Regions from separate parts of the Homo sapiens genome. Here all the other regions are linked to region 2. The links are contacts of gene promoters, found by promoter capture Hi-C in human tissues and cell types (Jung and others, 2019). All regions are on one chromosome and are shown on one strand. Each heading gives the region's core, a stretch centred on a gene start or on the middle of the fragment in contact. The rest is flanking DNA. Distances are from core to core; before and after follow the strand shown. Region 1 has its middle 7.8 kb from the start of KCNE3. Region 2 holds the start of FAM168A (family with sequence similarity 168 member A). Region 3 overlaps LOC107984421 (a long non-coding RNA gene).

Region 1 (3,263 bases), core at 402-2,901, 880 kb before region 2:
AATGATAAAAAAGAAAAAAATATATATCCAGTCTGTTAAGTGGTTGTCCCAGCCCTGCTCACACACCTCCAGACACAGAACACTTACTGCCTCCTGAGGCAGCCTTCCATTCTTGCACAGTTCTGATTGTTAGAAAGTTACTCCTCAAAGCTAAAATGTGCCACCAACATTGTCATAATTCTGCCCCCCTGCACTAAGAGGACTTCCCTGGCCATGCCCTACATCCCTTTCTAGTGGTACTGACCACACTCTATTATAGTTCCTTGTTTCCATGCCCGATCCCAACCAGACTGTGAGCTCCCCAGGCAGGGACTATAGCTGTGTCATCCATGGCCTTTTCAGCCCCCAGTCCCGGGCCTCCCACAGAGGAGGCACCCAGAAACAGTCTGTGGAATCAGAGAATGGATTGTCTCAGAAGTGGTCTCTACTTCAAGTTAAACATTCCTTATTCTTATGTTCTTCATGGCTTCCAGACCCCACACCACTGCCCTCATCTCCATAGGCTCCAATTGGCTAATGTGCCCTTAATCTATGCAGCTTGAAGATAACATGTATGGTATGGTCTGGCCAGGTTCCAGCCTGTGCTGGACCCTGAGGACAGAGATGGATCCAACTTGGTCCATCTTCAAGGAGCTCACCGCCTTGTAGAGAAGACACACCTGTAAACAAACACATGCAGTAAAGTGTTATACACACTGAGAGAAGCTTGCATAGGGAACTGTGGGGAAATAAAAGAAGTACTAAGTCTTAAAAGGGAGGATGAGGGCAGAAAAGGCTCAAAGTGACACTGAATTAGTGAGGACTTTGGGTTGTAGGTAACAGGAAACCCAGCTCAAACTAGCTCAAGTGAAAAGAGAATATTTTAGATCTCATAACTGAAAAGTCTGTGGATAGACTTCAGGCACAGATTGATCCAGGGACTCAAACAATGGCATCAGGACTTGGTTTTTCTTCCTCTATTCCTTAGCTCTGCTGACCTCAGAATTGGCTTCACTCTCTCCTGTGTGGTGCCAAAGATGGCTGTTGGTCACACCACACTTAGATTCTATAGCTTAGCCACCCTTACTTCCGTATACATTCAGCCTAAGGCCCAGGAAGGATTCTGGATAAATCATCACTCCAAGGAGCGTCATGACCCTCTTGGAACAAACAGATGGGGCTTAGCCCCACCTGAACCATATGGGCTGAGAGCAAGAGAGGGAAGGGTGACTCCCCAAAAGGAAGAGAGAGGTTCTATTCCCAAAAGAAGGAATTCTGGGAAGGCCAAGACATCAGATGTCCACTATGGCTTCAGAAGATAAGAATTGTGGGATAGATAAGAAGACATGGTGTGTTCCAGGCAGAATAAGAAGCATGAGAGTCTCTGAAGTGTGAAGCTAATCTGGGGAACTCAAGTGCCTATCTTGCCCCAGACTATAGCAGGTGTTTTAGGTGCTCCATGTATATTTGCCTGGCCCTTCCATTTCAGTGCCATTTCAAATATCTGTTAGAAACAGTCATTTCAGGCTGGGCACAGTGGCACAATCCTGTAATATCAGCACTTTGGGAGGCCGAGGCAGGAGGATCACTTGAGCTCAGGAGTTTGAGACCAGCCTGGGCAACGTAGTAAAAGCCTGTCTTTACAAAAAATGCAAAAATTAGCCGGGCATGGTGGCGTACACTTGTAGTCCCAGCTACTTGGGAAGCTGAGGCAAAAAGATTGCTTGAGTCCAGGAAGTGAAGGCTGCAATGAGCCAAGATCATCACCACTGCACTCCAGCCTGGAGCCTGGGTGACAGAGTGAGACCCTGTCTTAAAAAAAAAAAAAGAAGAAGAAGAAGAAGAGAAATAGACATTTCAGTGTCTATTTCCACCTGCCAGCATCTGTACCTTTTTTCTCAGGACTTTTGGAGGGACCGGGGCTGTCAACCCATGTGTCAGGCTGGACATGCTGGAGAATTCATATCCCCCGAGCAGCCCTCAGCCAATGACTGACTCCCCTAGCCCCCTTGCCTCTAATGAGGGGTAACTCTGGATGTGTGTTCTACCCAGGCCTCTAGGGTTCCCTAGCAGGGCTAAGCTTGCTAAGGGTACACCTTATGAAAGGCTCCATTCACTCCTGTGTTACTTCACCACTCTTCTAATTGTGTTTCCTGGGATCACGTCACACATGAACCACTTGTACTCAAATCCATGTCCCAGGGCCTGCTTCTGGGAGAATCCAAGATAGCCCCAAACACATTCTTCTAAAAACAAAGCTTAAGTCAGTGTCAACACTTTTTGTTTTTGTTTTGTTTTGCTGCCACACTATCCTATTTACTTAGGTGGGATAACAAATATGCATAACATCTGAGGTACAGCCCCTCCTTCCAGGAGCTCCTGGTCTGAGGGGAAGGCAATAATAAGCATTTCATGGTTTTCAAAGTGCCTTCTCAGCTGTGAGTCCATTTGCTCCTTGGAACACTGCAAGGTTTGCAGGACCAAGATTGTTGTTGTGCAAGTGAGGAACACAGAGGCTCAAAGTGGGGCAGTGACTTGGCCCAGGTCCCAGGGCCGATGATCCTTGGCTGACCCCTTTCTTGGCTTGTGCCTGTGTCAGCACCATCCAGGTGGTCTCTTATCACTAAGAAGAATTAGGGAATCCCTCCTTCTCTGTAGGTTCAGCCAGACCTCCAGTAAAGACACCCACATCTGTTGCTTGTTTTCTAAACATTGATGACTTTGGAGGTAGAAGATTAGAAGCACCAAAAACCAAACAGCATTCTGATCCCCCCAGGGGCTGCTTCGTCTATTGCTCCCTCTTGGACTAGGGGCTCTCCCAGTGAGAGCAACATTTTCCATGCAGTCAGGGCCATTCTTCCCATATCAGACTGTACCCTGCCCAAGAACAGGGACTTACACAAGGATGATACATATGAAAAAGGGGAGATACGTGGGATGGGAGCAGTCAGGGGACACAGACAAAGGCATCTAATTTAGGGCAGGGGAGATTTCCGGGAGGAAGTAGCATCTAAGGGTGAGTTAGCCGGCCCCAGGAGGAAGTATGTTCCAGGCAGAGAGAACAGCATAGGCAAAGGCCTGAAGATGACAGAGAGTATGTGGATATTTGAGGAACTGAGATTGTCCCCTCCTGCTCCTTTCTGGGGTGAAAACCCAAGCTCGCATCCTCCACCCACATTCCTTAGTTCTTCTACTCCTTCCTCCCACCCCTTGCCTGGAGCACGCTGAAAAGGATCAGGGGAGGACCCTACTCATCTGACAGATGCACTGCCTGTGCTGGATCC
Region 2 (3,528 bases), core at 994-3,493:
AGCCAGGCATGGTGGCACATGCCTGTAATCCCAGCTACTCGGAAGGATGAGGCAGGAGAATTGCTTGAGCCCGGGAGACGGAGGTTGCAGTGAGCCGAGATTGCACCACTGTACTCCAGCCTGGCTGACAGAGCAAGACTCTGTCTCAAACAAACAAACAAACAAACAAACAAACAAAAAAGAATTCAGATATAAGGAAAACCAGTGTGTCTAAAATATGTTCTAGGGAAGGTAGGACTTTGGCTTGAGTTTGAAGAATGAGTAAGAGAAAAGGAGAAAATGGGTGTGGAAAGACCAGAAATGGAAAAATTTTGAGAAGACGCATTGAAAATTGAGAAAATTCTCCCTTCCAACTTTATGAATTGGAAGTGACTACTATTATTTGTTTTAATAGTGGAACTATTAAAACCAGGCAGGCACAGTGCTGAAGCATGAATGAGACAATGGGAAGCCATGGAAAGCATCTAGGCAGCAAAGAAAGGTTGTTAGATTTGGAAATTATGTTTTTTGGAAGTAGCACAGCTTAAAAAATTGTCCAGGTGTAGTGTGGCTCACACCTGTAATCCCAGCACTTTTGAGAGCTGAGGCAGGAGGGTCTCTTGAGGCCAGGAGTTTGAAACCAGCCTGGGCAATATAGTGAGACGACGTCTCTTACAATTAAAACAAAACAAAAAAGAAAACAAAAAACAGTCGTTATGTGCTCCTTTTAAACAATTCAAACAATATGAAAACAAAAATTACAGTCGGGCATTGTGGCTCATGCCTGTAATCCCAGCACTTTGGGAGGCTGAGGCGGGCAGGTCAGGAGGTCAAGAAATCGAGACCATCCTGGCCAATATAGTGAAACCCCATCTCTACTAAAAATACAAAAATTAGCTGGATGTGGTGGCGCGCGCCTGTAGTCCCAGCTACTCAGGAGGCTGAGGCAGGAGAATCGCTTGAACCCGGGAGGCAGAGGTTGCAGTGACCTGCGATCGCCCCCACTTTACTCCAGCCTGGCTATAGATCCAGACTCCGTCTCAAAAAACAAAAAAAACCTACGTGCAATCTGACACCCTTTCCCCCAAGATAATCATTGCTAATATTTTGGCGAACCTCTTTCCTGAAATCTCTCCATGCTTGTAGAATATTGTGTCAAACCTCACATAAATGCACTCGTGTAGACATGCTGTTGTGTAATCAACTTTTTCCCCGAAGAATAAATTGTGAATAGCTTTTCATGTCAATAGATTTATATCATTTTAAATGGCTCCTTAGTATTGCATTGTATGTATATGTCACGTCTTATTTAAGCAGCACCCTATCGATGAACATTTACTCCCTTCATAATTAACTACGTCATATAACAACTTTGTGCATTCATCTTTTCGAAATTGTTCGATCATCTTTTTAAGGTAAATTCTTAAAAGTAATGGAGCTGGGTCAAGAAGAGGATATGCCCTTTGTCGTTTGGATTCAAGTTGCCGAATCGTCCTCAAATTTGCAGGGAGACCAGCGAGGAAGCTCCGGCATTAGTTCTGGTGAGAGACAGCTGAAACGGAGATGGCGAGGGATGAACAGAATCACAGGTGATCTAGCCCATCAAGGCCCATCCTCGGTGGGCTGGCGTATTCCTTCCCTTTTGCCTCTCTTTCACTTCTTTTTCTTAACATGGAGGAAGAACCGAGAACTCCATCTCCCAGCATTTCGCAGGGACCACACTCCCTGGGAACTGTAGTACCGGGTCTGAGAAGGGTCCGGAAGGAGAATAGGAAGCTGAGGGGCATGCTGGGAGGTGTAGTCCAGAGACAGAGACGAGAGGGAGAGGGAGAGAGGGAGAGAGGGAGAGAGGGAGAGACAGAGAGTGTGTGTGTGTGTGTGGGCGGGGGGAGGGGGGTGTCTATGCAAAGAGGATGGAGACGCTGCGAGTACGGCCCCTTGGGGATGGGGCCTCGGGCGACCTGACTTTCCTCACAGGTGGTCTTTGAGTCTACAAAATTCGCCAGCGGATGGTTGGCTTTATTCCACTGTCCGTGACCGGAGAGGGCGCGGCCCCTCTGCACCGGGCTCGCGGCGGGAGGCGCAGGCCGCGCGCGGGCTAAAGCAGGGCATGCCGGGAGTTGTGGTCCCGGCGCTCTGAGGCTGTGGGACGTGTCGCGGCGCCGCGCCGGCTCCTCCTTCCCTGCCCTTCTGAGCGGTCCCCCGCCTCCTCCCTCCGCCTCCTCCTCCCTCGCCCGCAGCCGAGCGTCCCCTCCCCCCACCCGTCGGGCTCCTCGGCGGCTACTGCAGAGGATTCAGAGCCGAGTCGCTGAGGAGGAGGCTCCGGTCCCCGCGCGCCATCCGCCACCCTACTGGACACGGGCGAGAGCGTCGCCGCCGTAGCCTCCGGAGAAGACAAGGGCATCGCCGCCTCAGCCGCCGCCGCCGCCGTTTTCGCCTGCAGCTGCTCACCGGTGAGGAGACTCCCCCCGCCACAGGGTCCGCTGGTCCTGAGTCTGGGCCGGTGGCGCTGGCGAGAATGAGAGGGGAGGCTGCGGAGCCCCCGTGCAGGTTGGGGGGAGGGGGTTGAGGTCGCGATGGAACGGCGGGCTGGCGGGGGAGACTTGTCCAGGCGCTGGCCGGGGGTGGGGTGAGGGTGGGACCCAAGCAGGTTGGGGGGCGGGCGACAAGGGAGGAGGACTTTTGATGGAGAATAACCCAACCTGGGACAGGAGAGTGGGGTGGGGGCGTCGGGTTGGAATTCGGGATGGTCTTGGGGCGAGGTGGAAGATGAGACTAGGGTGGGATGGCTTTTAATGGGGGAGGGGACTGAATGAGGGTGGTGATTTGGGTTTGGCCTGGAGCAGTTGACAGCTTGGGATCTGAGCTGGGGTGAGGGGCAGGGGAATGATTTCAACGGAGAGTGAGTGGCATGTACAGGGTTGGTTAGGGCCCTGCGTAGTGTTAATTCAGAAGGGTGGAATTTGGGGTGGACCTGGGGCAGGATGATGGAGGTGGCAGGAGTTGGGGGTGAGGGGCTTGGCATGGGTTGAGACCCAAGCTTGAAGTGGGTGTTTGTCATCTGGGGCTGGTGGAATTTGTGGAGACTTATGGAATAGCATGGGTTAGGATAGAGCAGAAGAGTGCAATTTGGGGGTTTCCTGGGGTGGGCTGATGGAGGTTGGAATAGGAGTTGGTGGAGGTGGGACATTCAGTGAGGGGAGTGTGATGGTGAGCTGGCAGGAAGGGGCCACATTGGAAGTCAGGCCCGAAATGGGAGGACAGGGATGGAAATGGAGTGTGGGGCACAGTGGGTTGGATTTAGGGTGATCTTACAATCACTGGAAAGGGCATGGTGGCTCCTTGGTTGCAGAGTCAAGGCAGAGGGCACATAAAACATCACTGGGCTGCTTTCATTGAAAGGATAGCGGCAGGGGTGAGCAAAGTTGGGGGATGGTATCTTGAAGAAAATATCCCTTGGCCAAGGTGGCAGAGGGAGTTTTGGAGAAGGACTTTCGGAGATGAGCTGGTAGGCCTGGGGAGGTGGTTGCTGATGGTGAGGTGGCACAG
Region 3 (3,159 bases), core at 330-2,829, 790 kb after region 2:
TCAAAAACAAAAACAAAAATCTTAAGTCATCTCAAGTTCCTCTTGCTTAAAACCCTTGAAAGGCTCTCCAGCATAGTCAAAGCAAATACCAAACCCTTTACCATGGCCTTCAAGGCCCTGCTTGATCTGGCCCCTGCCCACATCACTGATCTTACCTCTTCCTACTCTTTAGCCTTATTCACTGCACTGAAATCCCACTGCCAAGCTTAGCCCCACCTTGGAGGCTTTGCCCTGGCTGCACCCCTCTCCTAGTGCTCTTCCTCCACAACTTTTAGAGGCTAGCTCCTACATACCAGGCAGATTTCAGAAGACCTTTCCTGTCATCCAATCTGAAAAAGCTCCCATCCCAATCAGCGTCTATCACATCACCCTTGTTCTTCCTTTCAGAGCACCTAATACTCCCAGAAAGAATCACATTTCTGTGTTTGCTAGTTGTTTATTATGTCTCTTCTACCAGGCTGGGAACTTCAGGAAAGCCAGGACCAAGTCAATCTTGATCTAGGCTCTGTCTTCAGCATCTAGAACCAGGCTTGGCACCAACTGAGTAGGTAATCCGTAAATAAATTGCTGTTGCTGTGTATCAAAAAGAAAAAACCAAAGTTTGCATGGTCCAGTGCTTAGAAGTTTTGAAATAAAAAATGTAGCTATTTTTTGGCTGGGTATAGTGGCTCACGCCTGTAATCCCAGCACTTTGGGAGTCCGAGGCGGTGGATCACCTGAAGTCAGGAGTTCGAGACCAGCCTGGCCGACATAGTGAAACCACGTCTCTACTAAAAATACAAAAATTAGCCGGGAGTGGTGGCAGGTGCCTATAATCCTAGCTGCTTGGGAGGCTGAGCGGGGAGAATCACTTGAACCTGGGAGGCAGAAGTGGCAGTGAGCTGAGATCGTGCCATTGCACTCCAGCCTGGGCGAAAGAGCAAGACTCAGTTTAAAAAAAAAAAAAGTAGCTATTTTTTAAATTGGAAAACCAATCACATGCACATAGCAAAGAATTGAAATAGTACAAAAGTGAGCCTGTTTGCCTCACACCTTCATATTGATCAGGATAGGACAGGCTGGTCTGTGGTTACAGTGATTTCTTTTTTTTTTTTTTTCTTCCAGAGATGGAGTCTCGCTCTGTCTCCCAGTCTGGAGTGCAGTGGCATGATCTTGGCAATCTGGGCTCACTGCAACCTCCGCCTCCCAGATTCAAGCAATTCTCCTGCCTCAGCCTCCCGAGTAGCTGGGACTACAGGCACACGCTGCCACACCTGGCTAATTTTTTGTATTTTAGTAGAGACAGGGTTTCACCACGTTGCCCAGGCTGGTCTCAAACTCCTGAGCTCAGGCAATCTGCTCGCCTCAGCCTCCCAAAGTGCTAGGATTACAGGCGTGAGCCACCGCACCTGGCAGTACAGTGATTTCTAATATTGCCCATGACTGTTGGCTGAACTCAACTGGTGATTCTTACTTTGAATGGCTTATGTGACTGCGATCACACCAGGACTGGAGTTACCTGAAGACTCAGCTGGGCAGGTTACTGTTGATGGCTCACTCATTTGGCTGGCAGGAGATGCCATCTATTGGCTAGAGGGTCGGAGCTGCAAACCAAAGCACCTACATGTGGCCCCTTCACATGGCTTAGGTTTCTCAGAACATGGTGGCTAGATTCTGAGAGGGAGGCATCCCAAAACATGCATCCAACAGTATGAAAGCTGCCAGTCTCTTACGGTTTGACCCTGAAATTAGAACACATCACTTCCTCTGCATTCTATTAACCAAAGCAGTCACGGACCAGCCCAGATTGAAGGAGAGGGGACATAGGCCCCAGCCTTCAATGAAAGGAATGTCAAGCCAGGCACGATGGCTCACACCTGTAATCCCAGCACTTTGGGAGGTCAAGGCGGGCGGATCATCTGAGGTCAGGAGTTTGAGACCAGCCTGACTAACGTGGTGAAACCCCGTCTCTACTAAAAATACAAAAATTAGCCGGATGTGGTGGCGCACGCCTGTAATCCCAGCTATTCAGGAGGCTGAGGCAGGAGAATCGCTTGAACCCAGGAGGTGGAGTTTGCAGTGAGCCGAGATTGTGCCATTGCATTCCAGCCTGGGTGACAGAATGAGACTGTCTCAAAAAAAAATTAAAAAAGGAATGTCAAAAAAGTCTGGCCATCTTTAATCCACCACATGTGGATACTAAATAAAACTCCAAATCTCAGTCGCTTAAAACAACAAAGGCTTATTTCTTACTCATCCCACATTAGACAATGATGGTGTGCTGTTCTCCCCCAGCAGGGACTTAAATCCTTCTGACATCACCATAATCTCAGTTATTTGATTCCAACTGCTCAGATTGGGGTAGGGGAGAGGGAAAAGATTGACACTAACACTTAATTGCCTTGGACTGAAGTGATACATTCTTCTGCCCAATTCCGACTGGTGACATCACATCTACTAGGAAGGTTGAGAAATGTAGTCTTTCCATAGTCCCTGGAAAAGAGAAATGGGTGTGGATACATCACTGTGGCTAACACACACCACTTTCCCAGTCTCCTCCTCTAAAAGCATCACCACTAACACTACAGAGTGTATACTTCCAGAAATATTTATGCATATACGACACATAAAACACAAAGGGGAACAGGCACAGTGGCTCACGCCTGTAATCCCTGCACTTTGGGATGCTGAGGCGAGCAGATCACTTGAGCCCAGGAGTCTGAGACTAGCCTGGGCAACATGGCGAAACCCTGTCTCTTCTAAAAATACAAAATTTAGCCAGGCATGGTGGCACATGCCTGTAGTCCCAGCTACTCCAGAGGCTGGGGTGGGAGGATCACTTGAGCTCAGGAGGCAGAGGTTGCATTGAGCTGTGACCATGCCACTGCACTCAGCCTGGGTGACAGAGTGAGACCTTGTCTAAAACAAAAAAAACCCACAGAAAAAGAGTAGCATTTACACACTTCTACACTTTGCTTCTTCCTCTTTTTTTTTTTTTTTTTTTGGACAGAGTCTCACTCTGCTCTCCAGGCTAGAGTGCGATGGCACAATCATAGCTCATTGTAACCTCAAACTCCTGGGCTCAAACAATCCTCCCACCTCAGCCTCCTGAGACTAAAGATATGAGCCACCACACCTGGCCAAGCAAAGGATTTAAGTAGACATTTCTTCAGGCCAGAC

What was found. The method cuts DNA at HindIII sites, captures the fragments that hold promoters and counts their contacts. A contact is called where the count stands out against the background at its distance.
Region 1: a contact is called between a fragment that was not itself captured here and the fragment with the promoter of FAM168A in region 2, in 1 of the 25 tissues and cell types used here (spleen).
Region 3: a contact is called between a fragment that was not itself captured here and the fragment with the promoter of FAM168A in region 2, in 1 of the 25 tissues and cell types used here (dorsolateral prefrontal cortex).

The regions. Positions count from the first base shown.
Region 1 is chr11:74,473,752-74,477,014 of GRCh38, reverse strand. No RefSeq gene overlaps it. Among named protein-coding and RNA genes, the nearest start is that of KCNE3, 7.8 kb to the right of the region's middle. The HindIII fragment of the contact is 4,261 bases long and covers 1-3,263 here.
Region 2 is chr11:73,596,827-73,600,354 of GRCh38, reverse strand. It overlaps FAM168A (family with sequence similarity 168 member A), which reads left to right and starts at 2,243. Exons shown (of 8, transcript NM_015159.3): 1 at 2,243-2,432. RefSeq lists silencers at 1,800-2,029, 2,160-2,289 and an enhancer at 2,181-2,909. The HindIII fragment of the contact is 9,297 bases long and covers 1-3,528 here.
Region 3 is chr11:72,807,830-72,810,988 of GRCh38, reverse strand. The region is part of intron 1 of LOC107984421 (a long non-coding RNA gene); the gene reads left to right. Among named protein-coding and RNA genes, the nearest start is that of ATG16L2, 5.0 kb to the left of the region's middle. RefSeq lists a silencer at 3,044-3,113. The HindIII fragment of the contact is 4,988 bases long and covers 1-3,159 here.